5 separate regions of the Homo sapiens genome follow, and all the other regions are linked to region 5. Evidence: promoter capture Hi-C in human tissues and cell types (Jung and others, 2019). All regions are on one chromosome and are shown on one strand. The core of a region is centred on a gene start or on the middle of the fragment in contact, and the rest is flanking DNA. Distances in the headings are between cores, read along the strand shown. Region 1 holds the start of ZNF837 (zinc finger protein 837). Region 2 has its middle 12 kb from the start of ZSCAN4. Region 3 holds the start of ZNF211 (zinc finger protein 211). Region 4 holds the start of ZNF773 (zinc finger protein 773). Region 5 holds the start of ZNF417 (zinc finger protein 417).

Region 1 (2,700 bases), core at 64-2,563, 460 kb before region 5:
ATAGACCTCCTGACAAGGCTTTCGATGTGCAGACACCCAAAGGATGGAGAAAGGGAGTGGAACAGTCCCAGCATCCCTGAAGCAGATGCAGTGGAGGCAGAAAGGTGGGGCAAACTGGGTCGTTACATGCAATATATGTGCTGGACTGGCCAACAAAATTAGATGTCCCTATTGAGGGCAGGAGCCACACAATAGATGGGGGCAAGAGCTGGGGGTTACAAATGGGTAGGAGGCGTGACCAGTTCATCCTACCTGGGAGGGCCCGTAGAGTCAGCAACACCCAAAGGGGCTGGGGAGGCTGTGGTTCCCCAATGGGGCCGCACGTGTTAGAATCAACTAGGAGCCGGACTAGGGGCCTGGCGCAGTGGCTCAAGCCTGTACTCCCAGCACTCTGGAAGGCTGAGACACGAGGATCGCTTGAGCCCAGGAGTTCCAGACCAGTCTGGGCAACATATGGAGACCCTATCTCTAAAATAAATAAATAAATAAAAATAAAAAAACTATCCAGGCATGGTGGCTCCCACCTATAGTCCCAGCTATTCGGGAGGGTGAGGTGGGAGGGTCGCTTCAGTACAGGAGTTCGAGACCAGCCTGGGCGACATAGTGGGAGGAGGAAGGGAGGGGGAGAAGGAGGGGGAGGGAGAGAAGAAAGAAAATTAGCCGGGCGTGGTGGCGCGCGCCCCTGTTAACAGCTACTCTGGAGGCTGAAGTAGGAGGATCGCTTGAGCTCAGGAGGTCGAGGCTGCAGTGAACCGTGATGGTGTCACTGCATTAGCCTGGGCGACAGAGCGAGACCCCGTCTCAAAAAAGCAAACCAAAAAAAATACAAAAAAATAGACTTAACTGAGGAGTTTTGACGCGCATATGCTCGGGCCCAGTCCCAGATTCTGATGTTATCGGTCTGACTCGCAACGCGCTCACCAAGACACTTCAGAGCTCCCCAGGTGCTTCCCAGCCCAACTCTCCCACCCGAGGGGAGCCTGCGAACCGCAAGTCGGTTCCGGGTTGGGACCTCTTAGAAATCAGATTGGGAGAGGAGGCTATCAATCATAATCATGACCAGTCACCCGCTTTCACGAGAAGGAATGGGCGGGACCCTACGTCCCCGTCCAGAACGCCGTTTCTTTGGCGACGACTTAGGTCCACGCCCCGCCTTTTAGGTGTAGCCGGCCTCTGTTTCTATGATAACCGAAGCCCAAGCCTCTCCCTACACCGCTTTCTCCGCAGCGTCAAAGCGGGACATGACGGGACTACGTTTCCCAGCAGTCCCCGCGCGGGTTCCCGCCTGCGCTTGCTGTGGCCCGGGTCCCTCAGTGCCGCGGCGGCCCGGAGGTGGCGGGAGGACGGCTCCGCGCTGCATGCGGGGCGGGGACCAGGGACCCGTGCGGGCCGCCTCCAGAGAGTAAGTGGCATTCTGCGCGGACCCGCAACCTCGGCCTGCGAGGCGGGGACCTCCCGGCGCATAGCGCGGCCACCACCCCAGTCCCCTCTCCACCTCCGCGCGCGGGGTCCGGGGCAGAGGCGTGACGCCGCGCACTTCCGGTCCTCGCGCTCCGGGTCCGGACCGGCCACACAGCACTCGCGACCTTGAGTTCCGGGCGGGACGGGCTTCTGTAGTTCTGGCCCCCGCGTTTCCGTGCTGGGTGTCATTGAAGCCCGCGAGGGGAGGCTCCAGGCCCGGGACCCATCCTGGCGGCCTGCGGCTCTCGGAGTCAAGCCCACCTGCTAGCCGAGGCCGACGCCGGCCTCCCTACCGTCTCTGCCCCCGCATCCTGGCCTTTGCACTTTGCTCTTTCCTTGTCTGCAGACCGGTTTCATGCCCCCTCTTCACAGAGGCCCGAAGAATCCGCTGCCTCCCTCCCTGGCGCCCTCGCGCTGCTCCCTGTCTGATGTTCTTCACGTCTTTTTCTCTCTTAAACGGTCTCTTGTTCATTTCTTCTTGTCTGCGGTCCCCTCCTTCACTCACTATTAGAGCAGGATGCAGCACCGTTTGGCCCTGACACAGTGGATGTCCTGCGAGGGTTGAAGCTTGCTAATCCTTGAGGGTGGAGGCACTGTCGGGAGGACAGACACAGAAGGGAGCTGTGCCTGCACTCAGAGGACATTTCTTCTGCTGTACAGTGCATGATGCACTGTTCTTCCCATTGCGTGCACAGTGTAGAATTGGACATAGGGGCTAGAGTCTGTGTCCCCTGGGACTGTCAGTGTGGGTGAGGTTGGTCTGTGGCTCAGAGAGGTGGAGCCACGCTGAGCTGGGCACTAGCCTGTGTCCTCCACACCTCAGAGCCACCAACGTTGACTTCCCTGCACATTCTGTTTTTGTTGTTGTTGTTGTTGTTGTTGTTTTGAGACGGAGTTTCGCTCTTGTTGCCCAGGCTGGAGTGCAGTGGCGCGATCTCGGCTCACTGCAACCTCCGCCTCCCGGGTTCAAGCGATTCTCCAGCCTCAGCCTCCCGAGTAGCTGGGATTACAGGCATGCACCACCGTGCCTGGCGACTTCCCTGCACATTCTCTTGGGCAAATAAGACCTCATTGTGCCGTGTGCAACCTCCATGAGGATGTTGAACCTCACTAGCTTTCCTGTGTGTGCTGTTGCTCTGCAGTTCTGCAGGGCTCAGCCTTGGCCACGTTAACCTCTCAGTCCCCCTAAATTGGTAACTCTGCATCCTGTTCCCAACACCAGAAGCCCTAAGGACAACT
Region 2 (2,700 bases), core at 37-2,536, 260 kb after region 5:
TATTAGGTATTATAAGTAATTTAAATTATAATTTAAATTATGTGGGAGGATATACACAGGTTATATGCAAATACCACATCATATTATATAAGAGACTAGAACATCTTCAGGTTTTGGTATCCTTGGGGGTCCTGGAATCAGTCCCCCATGGATACTGAGGAATGATTATACAAGTATTTCTATGGACACGTTTCCATCTCTTGAGGTTATACTTAGGAATGAGATTAATTTATCAAATGATAAGTGGACAACTAACTTTAATAACGGCTACAGTGTTTTCCAAATTTATTTATTTTGCATTTCCACCAGCAATGTATGAGAGCTCCAGTTTATTTCATACCTTCAACAGCTAGGTGTGATCATTCGGTTAATGTTACTCATCAAAATGAGTATGTAGTGGTATCTCATTGTGGTTTTCATTTGTAGTTCCTTAAATAGTAATAATTCTGAACTTATTTTCATGCATTTATATACCATTCATATATCATCTTTAGTGAAAAATGTGTTCAAATATTTTGCCTTTTTTTTTTTTTTGACATGGAGTCTAGCTCTGTTGCAGACAGACGGAGGGCAGACGGAGTTTCACTCTTGTTGCCCAGGCTGGAGTACAGTGGCGCGATCTCAGCTGACTGCAACCTCTGCCTCCCGGGTTCAAGCAATTCTCCTGCCTCAGCCTCTTGAGTAGCTGGGATTACAGGTGCCTGCCACCACTCCTGGACACTCCCGGATAATTTTTGTATTTTTACTAGAGACGAGGTTTCACCATGTTGGCCAGGCTGATGTTGAACTCCTGTCCTCAAGTGATCCGCCTTCCTCAGCCCCCCAAAGCGTTGGAATTACAGCTATGATATCTCACCCTGTTGCCCAGGCTGGAGTGCAGTGATTTGATCATAGCTCACTGAAGCTTCGACCTCCCTGGAATCAGTGATCCTTCCATCTCAGCCTCCCAAGTAGCTGGGGCCACAGGCACACACCACCATGCCCAGCTTATTAGCTAATTTTTGTAGAAACAGTGTTTTGCCATGTTGCCCAGGCTGGTCTTGAACTTTTGCCTATTTTTAAATTGTGTTGTTTATGCTATTTGTAGGGATGTTTTACGTATTCTGAATACTCATCATTTATTAGATAGAGGTTTCACAAATATTTTTCCCAGGCTGTAGTTGGCCCTTTCCTTTTTTTACAGGGGGTATATGGGTGAAGTCAACTTGCCAGTCCTGTTCTGGGAAATGGCCTCATGCCTGATGAGTGGAGAAAGGAGGTGGTTTAAGAGCCCCTTCAGGGGAAGTCTGACCACAAACTGGGCAGACTGGTTAAACATTCAAGGTTGGTTGTCATGGTGGTGGAGTGTGTGTAAGTTTTTAAAAACTGGGGTATGTGGTAATAACCAGCATGGAAGTGGTTGTGGATGTGGGAGGGAATAGAGAGTTCTTGAGATTTGGGCAGGATGAGTTTGTGTCAAGATAACATCAGCCTTCCCTTTGGGTAGCCCCAGTGTTAGTTTGACTTGTTCCTCCTGGGTGTATGAGGGATGTCTGCTGGGAAAATGGACAACAGTGATGGGATGTTGTGGGCCACCTGCCAGGCTGCTGAGTCTGCCATAATGTTTCCCTTGGTTATGGCATCTGTAGCTCTCTGGTGTCCATTGCAATGGATAATGGTGGCCTCTAATGGTAGTTTAGCTACCTCCAGCAACCTGTGTATCAGTTTGCCATTTACTATGCAGGTCCCTTTGGTACTAAGAAAAGCTCTTTCCTGTGAGATTAAGGCTTGGGAGTGTAGAATGTGGTATGCATACTTACAGTTAGTGTAAATATTGACCCTTTTTCCTATTGCTAGGGTGAGGGCCCTAGTTAGGTCGACTAATTCTGCCTGTTAGGAGGTGGTAGGGGATGCGACAGTATTGGACTCTAGGAGCTTGTGTTTGGCAACGATGGTGTAGCCTGCTGCAAGACATGGCTCTTTAAAGGAGCTCCCATCAATGAACCATGTAGGTGTCCCCTGTAAGGGGGTCTCTGATATGTGTCGGAAAGGGAAGGAAAGGGAATCTAAAAAGTCCAAGCAGGAGTGACAGAGTTCAGAGTCAAAGGTCCTTATAGGGAAGAGGGTGGCTGGGTTGAGAACTTTACATCTTTGGTAGGTGATTAGAAGGTTGTTTATGTAGGAGGTGTGTGTTTGTTGTAAGTAAGATAGCAGGAGGGAAAGAAGGGAGCAATGACTCATGAGTTCCTGTAGGTTATGAGAAGGTGCAATGGTAATGTATTGATAGAGGGTGAGTTTTTGAGCTTCTGAGGCCAGCAGCATAGACACACATAAGATCCTTAAACAGGGTGGCCAACCTTAGATGACTGAGTTCAGTTGTTTTGAGAGATATACAATGGCTTGTGGGGTACCGCTGAATGTTTGACAGAGTAGCCCAAGAACAAGGCCTTGGTTAGAATGAACATACAGAGTAAAGGGCTTGTTGGGGTTGGGTAGTCCCAGTGCTGGCGACATTGAAAGGGCATTTTTCAGTTTTTTGAACTGGGAGTCAATGGTACAGACTGGATCCAGGTGTTCTAGGATGGGCCCACGTGATGTGGTGTACAGCAGCTTGGTCAGCAAGTTGGGAATCCATAGCCAGAAGTATCCCACAAGGCTCAAGAAGGAAAGGAGGTTCTTTGTATGAGAAAGGGGCATATCCCGGATTAGCTTCTTCCATTG
Region 3 (2,727 bases), core at 61-2,560, 280 kb after region 5:
TTAGTCACTGTGTTCATTCTGTTTTCCACTCTGTATCCTGTCAACACTTGGGTTAGATAAATCTCCCTCCTCTGATCCCAAACTCCAACTTCCTCACAATAGATGCCAAACTTCACAGAAATAAAGGAAACCTGCAGTTCCCTGAACCAGCTCAGCCTCACCTCCAAGGAGTTCCAAAAGCTGGTACCTACCTGTTTCTATCATAAATTTTCACCCATCTTTCCATTGGCTGCTCCAAATGGAAACATTGGCCTGGACTCAGGGCCCTTAGCTCAGGGATTCTCCAGGGTTCCCAAACCAAACGCTGAGAGAATGGTAGGTGAGTCCCATGACACCACAAATCTAAAGAAAATATCTGTCTGGGGAGGGTGGAGGGACATTCCAGACCAGTGAGGGGCTGAGATACCTCCACTTACCTGTGTAAGTTTGAAAAGCACCTCTGTAGCTATGGGAACCTGTGGAAAGACGCAGGCCTCAGAGGAATGTGATCATGGCAGTGCTCCATGGGCACAGGCCTTCCCTGTACCCTTGCCCCGGCCCAGAGCCACGTAACTTTGGGTCGACTGTCTAACCTGTGCGCCTCGGTCCTTAGTGCTGCCTCTCACCAGTTGTGTGGCCTTGGAAAAATATTCAACCTCCCTCTGCCTCAACGTCCTCATCCATCTCTAAAGTCTTTTCTTCCACTGAACAGCCTGCAGAGGATTTTTCAAATTTAACTCAGATGGTGTCTCTCGTTTGCGCAAGCTCTCTATGGCTCCCACGGCCCTAAGAATAAAGGTAGATCTCTCTCAAACTTTGTTCCCTGCAGTAACAATGTGGAGCCCAGGTTCCTGAATGCCCCCTTCTCGGTTGCCCGTCCAAGCCCTGCACGCGCCGGTCCTGTCCCTTGTCCCCCTGCCCACCACATCGGATGTCAGAAATAGGGGCCCCACCCACGAGCCTCAGTGTCCCCGACCCTGTGCTACAGAGACGTGAGCTGGTGCCTCTCACTTGGGACTTAAGAATCTCGGCCGGGGGAGGCCCGGAGATCGCAGCGCTCACCGAAGCCGGGTCCCTCAGTGCGGTCGCCATCCGAGTCTGTGGGCGGAGCTGGACCGGGAGCTGCGGGCGACCCGGGGGGAACCCGAGCATCGCTATCCCCAGGCCGGCCTCGCGGGCGGCTCTGCCCCCGACCCTCAGACCTGACTCTCGCGCCTTCACGGTCCGTCACTTCGATCCCGATGCAGCGTACCAAAGCGGCTGACAGACAGAACGGACCTCCGGGAGGGCAGCCAAAATGACCGCTGCGAAGACGCCACAAGTCCCGCCCTGGGGGGGGCGGGGGTAGACCCACACGGAAATGCCCCTGTCTTGGATTTTCATTGGATCAAAGTACTGCCGCTCGACGCAAGGCTTTCTGGGTAATGTAGTCTCCCCCAGGCTGCGACGGAGGGCGCCTTGTGTGCAGACAGCTGGGAGCGCTAGGAAGCTGCGTCTGCTGCCTTCCAGGGCGACTGAGGGGCTTCGGTGTTTGAGGTCTTAAGTAGGTTGACACTTGAACAACACAGGTTTGAGCTGTGCGGGTCCATTTACACGTAGGCGTTTTTTTTCCCCAATAAACGTTACTTCGAGTGTGCTCCTTTTCCTGCCTCTTCCAGCTCCCCGACCTCTTGCCCCAGAGACAGCAAGACCTCATTCTCTTGCCCAGCATGAAGAACACAAGGATGAAGACCTTTATGATGATCCACTTCCACTTAATGATTAGTAAATGTATTTTCCCTTCCGTATTCTTTTATTTTCCTTTTTTTAATTGGGTGTAATGTCAACGAGCCTCTTACAATTTTCCTGATACCCTTTCTCTGGTCTGTTTTAGTACAAGTATAGTTCTTATACTAAAATATATATAATGCATATATCATACAAAATGCATATATCATATATATTATGCATATATCATGCATATATCATACAAAATGTGTTAATCGACTGGGAGTTTATGTAATTCATAAGGCTTCCGGGCAACTTCATAAGGCTTCCGGGCAACAGTTGGCTATTAGTAGTTAAGACCTAGGGGAGTCAAAAGTAATACAAGCATTTTCAATTCCGCAGGGGTCGGTATCCCTGACCCCTGCGTCGTTTAAGGGTCAGCTGTATATCAGTCTCTAGTGTAGAGGTTCACTTCAGTATTTAGACATCATTTCAGATTCCATGCAGCCCACCCCAGCAGATCTCCACTGGTAGTGGGAAGCGAAAAAACGTTATCTTATTGCTCTTCAAATGCATGCAGCCTGAAGTGTTAAAGTCACTTTTTGTAGGTTTTGTCAGGGACAAAAGACACCAGACAGGGCTACAATGGGAAGATAGTGGAGGGATAGTGGGCAGCCCTGAAGCCAACGGACAAGGGAAGTTCCCTGCTTCTGGTGCCCCCAGAAAACGCTCTCCTGCCTGCAAAGTCAGTTTTGTTCATAAAACATGAAGCTTTAATACATGAATGTTCATTTTCCTTGTATAATCAAAACATTTAATTTTTTTTTGAGACAGGGTCTCACTCTGTTGTCCAGGCTGGAGTACAGTGGAACAATCATAGCTCATTGCAGCCTCCACTTCCTGGGCTCAAGTGATCCTCCCACCTCAGCCTCTTGAGTAGCTGGCACTACAAGCACACCACCACACCCGGCTAGTTAAAAAAAAAATTATTGTAGGAATGGAGTCTCCCTATAGGGCCCAGGCTAGTCTCAAACTCCTAGG
Region 4 (2,700 bases), core at 118-2,617, 420 kb after region 5:
CTGTCTCAAAAAAAAAAAAAAAAGAAAGAAAAAGAAAGACAATGTGGGTTTCCTTTTGGCAATCTGGCTGCCTGCTATATACTCCCCTGAAGACCATCCTGCTGAGAGCCCTCCCTTCTACTGGAGCAGTTGATCATCCCACCTGTGCTGATAGCTAGGGAAACTTAGGCACCAAAGGTGCTGCTCCACCAGCCTGGCTGACCTTTCCTTTTCTCCATATGGACTGGACATGAGGAACTACTAAGCCTGGAGTGGCAAACCTATATACTACCCAACACTGCGGTCTCCATCCAGTCCTGGGTGTTCATACTCTATAACCCTCCATTCCTGCAGGCACCAGACAAAATCACTTCGGACCACGAAACTCCAGGCTGTAGAGGCTGCCCCATCCTACAGGCCCATCTCTCCCTTCCCTCACCTCAGGGACCATCTGAAAGAAAACTTTAAGATTCTCCCTCCTAAATACGAGCCCCAGGCCTTCCAGCTGCTCATGTGGACATGACACCTCCACTCTGGGACATCTCAGGATCACCATGCCCAAAACCTATTCCCTGCACAGCCTTACCCATCTCCATCCTTCCTGATATTCAGGAACAAACAAAAATACAAATAAAAATCCAGAATGGCTCTTCATTCCCTACTTTCTTTCACAGTCACATCTGATGCAACAGGAATTCCCGTCTGTTCAGTTTTTGAAATCCATCCAAGATCTGATCACTTCCCCTCCTCTGTGGCCCAGTCCCAGTAGACTCTCCACTAGTCTACTGAATTTACCTACTCACAGGTCTGTCTTCACCCGCCTCACCCCCACCCCAGTCTGTTTTGACTTGAAGGGCCTTTGGCAAACTTTGAGAAACAGATCTTGTCACTCTTCTGTCTCCAGCCCTCCGCGGCCACTGTGGCCCCCTCAGGATGAAAGCGCAGCTGCTCGGGCTGTCGCTCGACACGCGCCTCGTCCCTTCCCAAGCTGCCCACTACAGACACCAGGAGGCCTCAGGTTCGGGACTCGCTGAATGCGCCTCACATCTTTGCGAGCCGGGCCCCTTGCCCTCCATTGCCACCCCATCACACTGCGTGTCAGAAACGGGACGCCGCCCACGAACGCCCCACAGTTCTGCACCCGGGGACCTGAGCAGGCGGCCCTCACAGGGCTTTAGGATTCGGGGGAGGCCGGGAGGACGCGGCGCTCACCTGAGCGGGGTCCCTCAGCGTGGCCGCCGCCATCGGAGCCTGTGGCGGTGAGACAACGACCGAGGAAAGGGCCCGGGCCACCCTGGGCGCCGCCACCGAGCCTCAGACCCGCCTCTGAGCTGCGAGAACACAGCGCGTCCCCACCGCGCTTTCCGGAGCTGGTCGCCGCAGCGAACAACCAGCTTCCGGCAAGCTGAGTTCTCTTGAGGGCAGCGAAAGCAACCGCCGAGGGGAGACGCCGGAAGTCCCGCCCATTGCGCGTCGCACTCTCGGGTAGACCTCTTTTCATTGGCCAAGCATCGCGGCTCACGGCGCGGCGCCTTCTGGGCAGTGTAGTTCGCGTGGCTCCAAACTTCGAGGAAGTGGGCATAACTTCGGAGATGGAGATTGGAGACGGTAGATGATGGAGATGGAGATGGAGATGGAGATGATGGAGATGATGGAGATGGAGATGATGGAGATAGAGATGATGATGGAGATGGAGATGATGGAAATGGAGATGATGAAGATGGAGATGATGGAGAAGATGGAGATGATGGAGAAGATGGAGATGATGGAGAAGATGGAGATGGAGATGATGGAGTAGGAGATGGAGATGGAGATGATGGAGATGATGGAGATGGAGATGATGGAGATAGAGATGATGATGGAGATAGAGATGATGATGGAGATGGAGATGATGGAGATGGAGATGATGGAGATAGAGATGATGATGGACATGGAGATGATGGAGATGGAGATGATGATGAAGATGGAGATGATGGAGAAGATGGAGATGGAGATGATGGAGTAGGAGATGGAGGAGAAATGAGTGTCGAGAACTCTCGGACTCATCTGGAACCTGTTGTAATTGGAGATGGGCCTGGATTTCAGTTTCCTGCAGCTGATACTCCAATCTTTCCTTCTTTTGAAGGACTTGAAGAGGATCTTCAGGGCCACCATAAAGAGGTTTCACTGGGCAAAGCCACGTATACCTTCCTAAATTTCCTTTGGCAAGGGGACACCCAATATTAATGCCTGATGTATGATAATAAGAAAAGGCTCTGAATTCTGGATGTAGGTGATGAGAGAGTAGGGGAGCCCAAGGATTTACGTTCCTCTTTCACCCCATTCTCATTTGTGTTCTTTCCTTCCTCAAGGACCCAACATTGGTGTAAAGGCACAACAACAGGCAGCAAACCCATAAGCCAACTCCCCCTCAATTTCTCCCCTTCATCCATTTCTGCTCCATATTCCTGTCACAGTTACTATGGGACTGAACGAAGGGGAACGAATGCAGAAATGAAAACAAAGGCAAAATAAATCTGTTTTAAAGAAGGGGTCAGGGGGCTTCTTGCTTCTAGTGAGGAAGGGCCCTGAGCTTCCACAGACCTTCATATTTATTGGGTAGAAAGAGTAGGGAGGTGGTGGCTTACGCCTGTAATCCCAGCACTTTGGGAGGCCAAGGCGGGTGGATCACAAGGTCAGGAGATCGAGACTATCCTGGCTAACACGGTGAAACCCCGTCTG
Region 5 (2,700 bases), core at 201-2,700:
GTTGCAGTGAGCCGAGATCGCGCCACTGCACTCGAGCCTGACCAAAGAGCGAGACTCCGTCTCATAAAAGAAAAAGTTTATTTTGCCAAGGTTGAGGACACATGCCCGTGACACAGCCTCAGGAAGTCCTGACGACATGTGCCCATGGTGGTTGGGGTACAGGTTGGTTTTATACATTTTAGGGGGACATGAGACATCAGTGAATATATGTAAGAAGTACATTGGTTCCGACCAGAAAGGCGGGAACAACTCGAAGCAGGGAGGGGACTTCCAGGTCACAGGTAGACAGGTAGAGAGACAAATAGTTGGATTCTTTTTAATTTCTGATAAGTCCTTCCAAAGGAGGCAATCAGAATAGGCATCTATCTCAGTGAGGAGAGGGAAGACTTTGAATAGAATGGGAGGCAAGTTTGCCCTGAGCAGTTCCCAGATTGACTTTTCCCTTTAGCTTAGTAATTTTGAGGCCACAAGATTTTCCTTTCACAGATTCTATCAGCAGGAGAGTTGTTTTCTGTAGGAATCACAGAGATTCAGCTTTGCACTCCTGCTATAGGGGAGCACATCCCTAACTTCCTTCATTTGCCTTAGGCACTCTAAGGCTTCTGAGGGCCTTCAGACACATTATAACACAACAACGCTTATCAGCCTCTGCTTCCAGTGCAGGTATTTTGCGACTGAACGACTGTTTCAAACGGTGTGGTAATTTGGATTTTTAGCCTTTAGGAGAATCCTAAATAATAGTTTTAGCTTGAGCTCCCTATTATTTACCTTGCGCTCCCCGAAATCTGAAACAGTATTTTTCCAGATTCTTGAGTGATTAGTTACAGACACTAGTCTCCAGGAATCTCAATACGGCTTCTAAGGCTAGGTGAGACCCCTCCTCTGCCCTAGAAAGGCGCCTTTTTTTTTTTTTTTTTTTTTTTTTTTTTTTTTTTTTTTGAGACAGAGTCTTGCTCTGTCGCGCAGGCTGGAGGGCAGTGGCGCGATCCCAGCTCACTGCAAGCTCTGCCTCCCAGGTTCACGCCATTCTCCTCCAGCCTCAGCCTCCAGAGTAGCTGTGACTGTAGGCGCCCGCCACCACACCCAGCTAACTTTTTTTTTTTTTGAATTTTTAGTAGACACGGGGTTTCACCGTGTTAGCCAGGATGGTCTCCATCTCCTGACCTCGTGATCCGCCCACCTCCGCCTTCCAAAGTGCTGAGATTACAGGCTTGAGCCACTGCGCCCGGCCAGAAGGGTGCGCTTTTTAAGGAGAACCCCTGACCTGATGGCGGGCTTTTCCTGCAGATGGACTCTGGGTATCGCTCTTTTTAGCGCCATGGAAAGTGGGGAACTACATTACCCAGAAAGCTCTGCGTTAAACGACAGCCGGTCAGAGCCAATGAGCACTCGGAAAGAAGGCATTTCCACGTGTGCACGTAACGTAAGGCTGAGACTTCCGGGGTCTCTAGTAGCGGCTGTGTATCGGTGACGCGGGTGTTTCCCCAGTTTGTGGCCCCTGAGTGCTGGGGGGGGACCGCGGTGACTGAACCTAGAAGGTGGAGAGGAATCGTCCTCGGTGCCCAGAGGCGGCTCTGCAGCCCCGTGACGGCGACCACTGCTCCCGGGCCGTGCTTCCCCAAGTAGTCCGATGGCAGCGGCTGCGCCGAGGCGCCCGACTCAGGTAATTGTGGCGCCTTCTGTGCCCTCAGGTCACCCCATCGTCACCCAGGTCCTAAACCAGCGAGGGAGCGGCTCCTGCTCACGGGTCTGTAGCCGGTACCCGGCGTAGGAACACTGAGGCGCTCGCAGGAGGGGTCCCTGTGTAACTGTCCAGTGGGGGTCCCTGTGTAACTGTCCAGTGGGTTCACCTTGCCAGCTGCCTAGACAGAGCCGATTTATGAAGACTGGAGAATTGCGATGGAGAAATAGTAATTGACGCAGAGCCGTCAGGCTGTTCTGGAGACAGGAGTTTTATTATTACTCAAATCAGTCTCCATTAGCATTCCGGGATCAGAGTTTTCAACATTAATTTGGCGGTAAGGGTTGGGACCTGAGATGGATTCATAGAGGGTTAAAGTGAGTTTTTCATGCTGTTTTCTGTTCTGGGTGGGATGGCAGAACTGATTGACCCAGATTACCGGTCTGTGTGTTGTCAGCTGATCCATCCAGTGCAGGATCTGCAAAATACCTCAAGCACTGATCTTAGGTTTTACAATAGTGATTTATCTTCAGGAGCAACTTGGGGAGGTTCAGACTCTTGGAGTCAGAAGCTGCATGACCCCTAAACGGTAATTTCTAACCTTGTAGCTAATTCGTTAGTCCTGCAAAGGCAGGCTGTTCTCCAGGCAAGAAGGGGGTCTTTTCAGGAAAGGGCTATTATCAATTTTGTTTCAGAGTGAAACCATGAACTGAATTCCTTCCCTAAGTTAATTCAGCCTATACCCAGGAATGAACAAGGACAGCTGAAAGGTTGGAAGCAAGACGGAGTCAGTAAGGTCTGATTTCTTTCACTGTCATAATTTCCTCAGTTATAATTTTGCAAAGACGGTTTCACCTGTTTCTGACACCCGTGGGATGCGGTGGGGAGAGCAACAAGCACAGGGAGGGGCGCAGGCAATGGCCTGGAGATGGACGGAGCCGGGAGGATGGAACCTGTCTGGAACAAAGTGTGAGGTGGAGCTCTCCCTGGAAGAGTAAGCAGGCCGAGGGCTGTGCATT

The links. The method cuts DNA at HindIII sites, captures the fragments that hold promoters and counts their contacts. A contact is called where the count stands out against the background at its distance.
Region 1: the fragment with the promoter of ZNF837 here is called in contact with the fragment with the promoter of ZNF417 in region 5 in 1 of the 25 tissues and cell types used here (stomach).
Region 2: a fragment that was not itself captured here is called in contact with the fragment with the promoter of ZNF417 in region 5 in 1 of the 25 tissues and cell types used here (spleen).
Region 3: a contact is called between the fragment with the promoter of ZNF211 here and the fragment with the promoter of ZNF417 in region 5, in 2 of the 25 tissues and cell types used here (lymphoblastoid cells and pancreas).
Region 4: the fragment with the promoter of ZNF773 here is called in contact with the fragment with the promoter of ZNF417 in region 5 in 1 of the 25 tissues and cell types used here (spleen).

Annotation. Positions count from the first base shown.
Region 1 is chr19:58,379,643-58,382,342 of GRCh38, reverse strand. It overlaps ZNF837 (zinc finger protein 837), which reads left to right and starts at 1,313. Exons shown (of 3, transcript NM_138466.2): 1 at 1,313-1,402. RefSeq lists a silencer at 1,052-1,561 and enhancers at 1,912-1,971, 1,506-2,047, 2,002-2,231, 2,048-2,589. The HindIII fragment of the contact is 47,170 bases long and covers 1-2,700 here.
Region 2 is chr19:57,655,128-57,657,827 of GRCh38, reverse strand. It overlaps a transcript of ZSCAN4 not described here. Among named protein-coding and RNA genes, the nearest start is that of ZSCAN4, 12 kb to the left of the region's middle. The HindIII fragment of the contact is 8,692 bases long and covers 1-2,700 here.
Region 3 is chr19:57,631,751-57,634,477 of GRCh38, reverse strand. It overlaps ZNF211 (zinc finger protein 211), which reads right to left and starts at 1,310. Exons shown (of 4, transcript NM_006385.5): 1 at 1,042-1,310; 2 at 417-455. The coding sequence starts at 1,131. RefSeq lists a silencer at 991-1,060 and enhancers at 1,501-1,550, 1,621-1,710. The HindIII fragment of the contact is 12,794 bases long and covers 303-2,727 here.
Region 4 is chr19:57,498,605-57,501,304 of GRCh38, reverse strand. ZNF773 (zinc finger protein 773) reads right to left here and starts at 1,367. Exons shown (of 4, transcript NM_198542.3): 1 at 1,192-1,367. The coding sequence starts at 1,224. The HindIII fragment of the contact is 9,164 bases long and covers 1-2,700 here.
Region 5 is chr19:57,915,342-57,918,041 of GRCh38, reverse strand. ZNF417 (zinc finger protein 417) reads left to right here and starts at 1,450. Exons shown (of 3, transcript NM_152475.3): 1 at 1,450-1,663. The coding sequence starts at 1,631. RefSeq lists enhancers at 1,074-1,133, 530-1,385, 1,404-1,693. The HindIII fragment of the contact is 14,944 bases long and covers 1-2,700 here.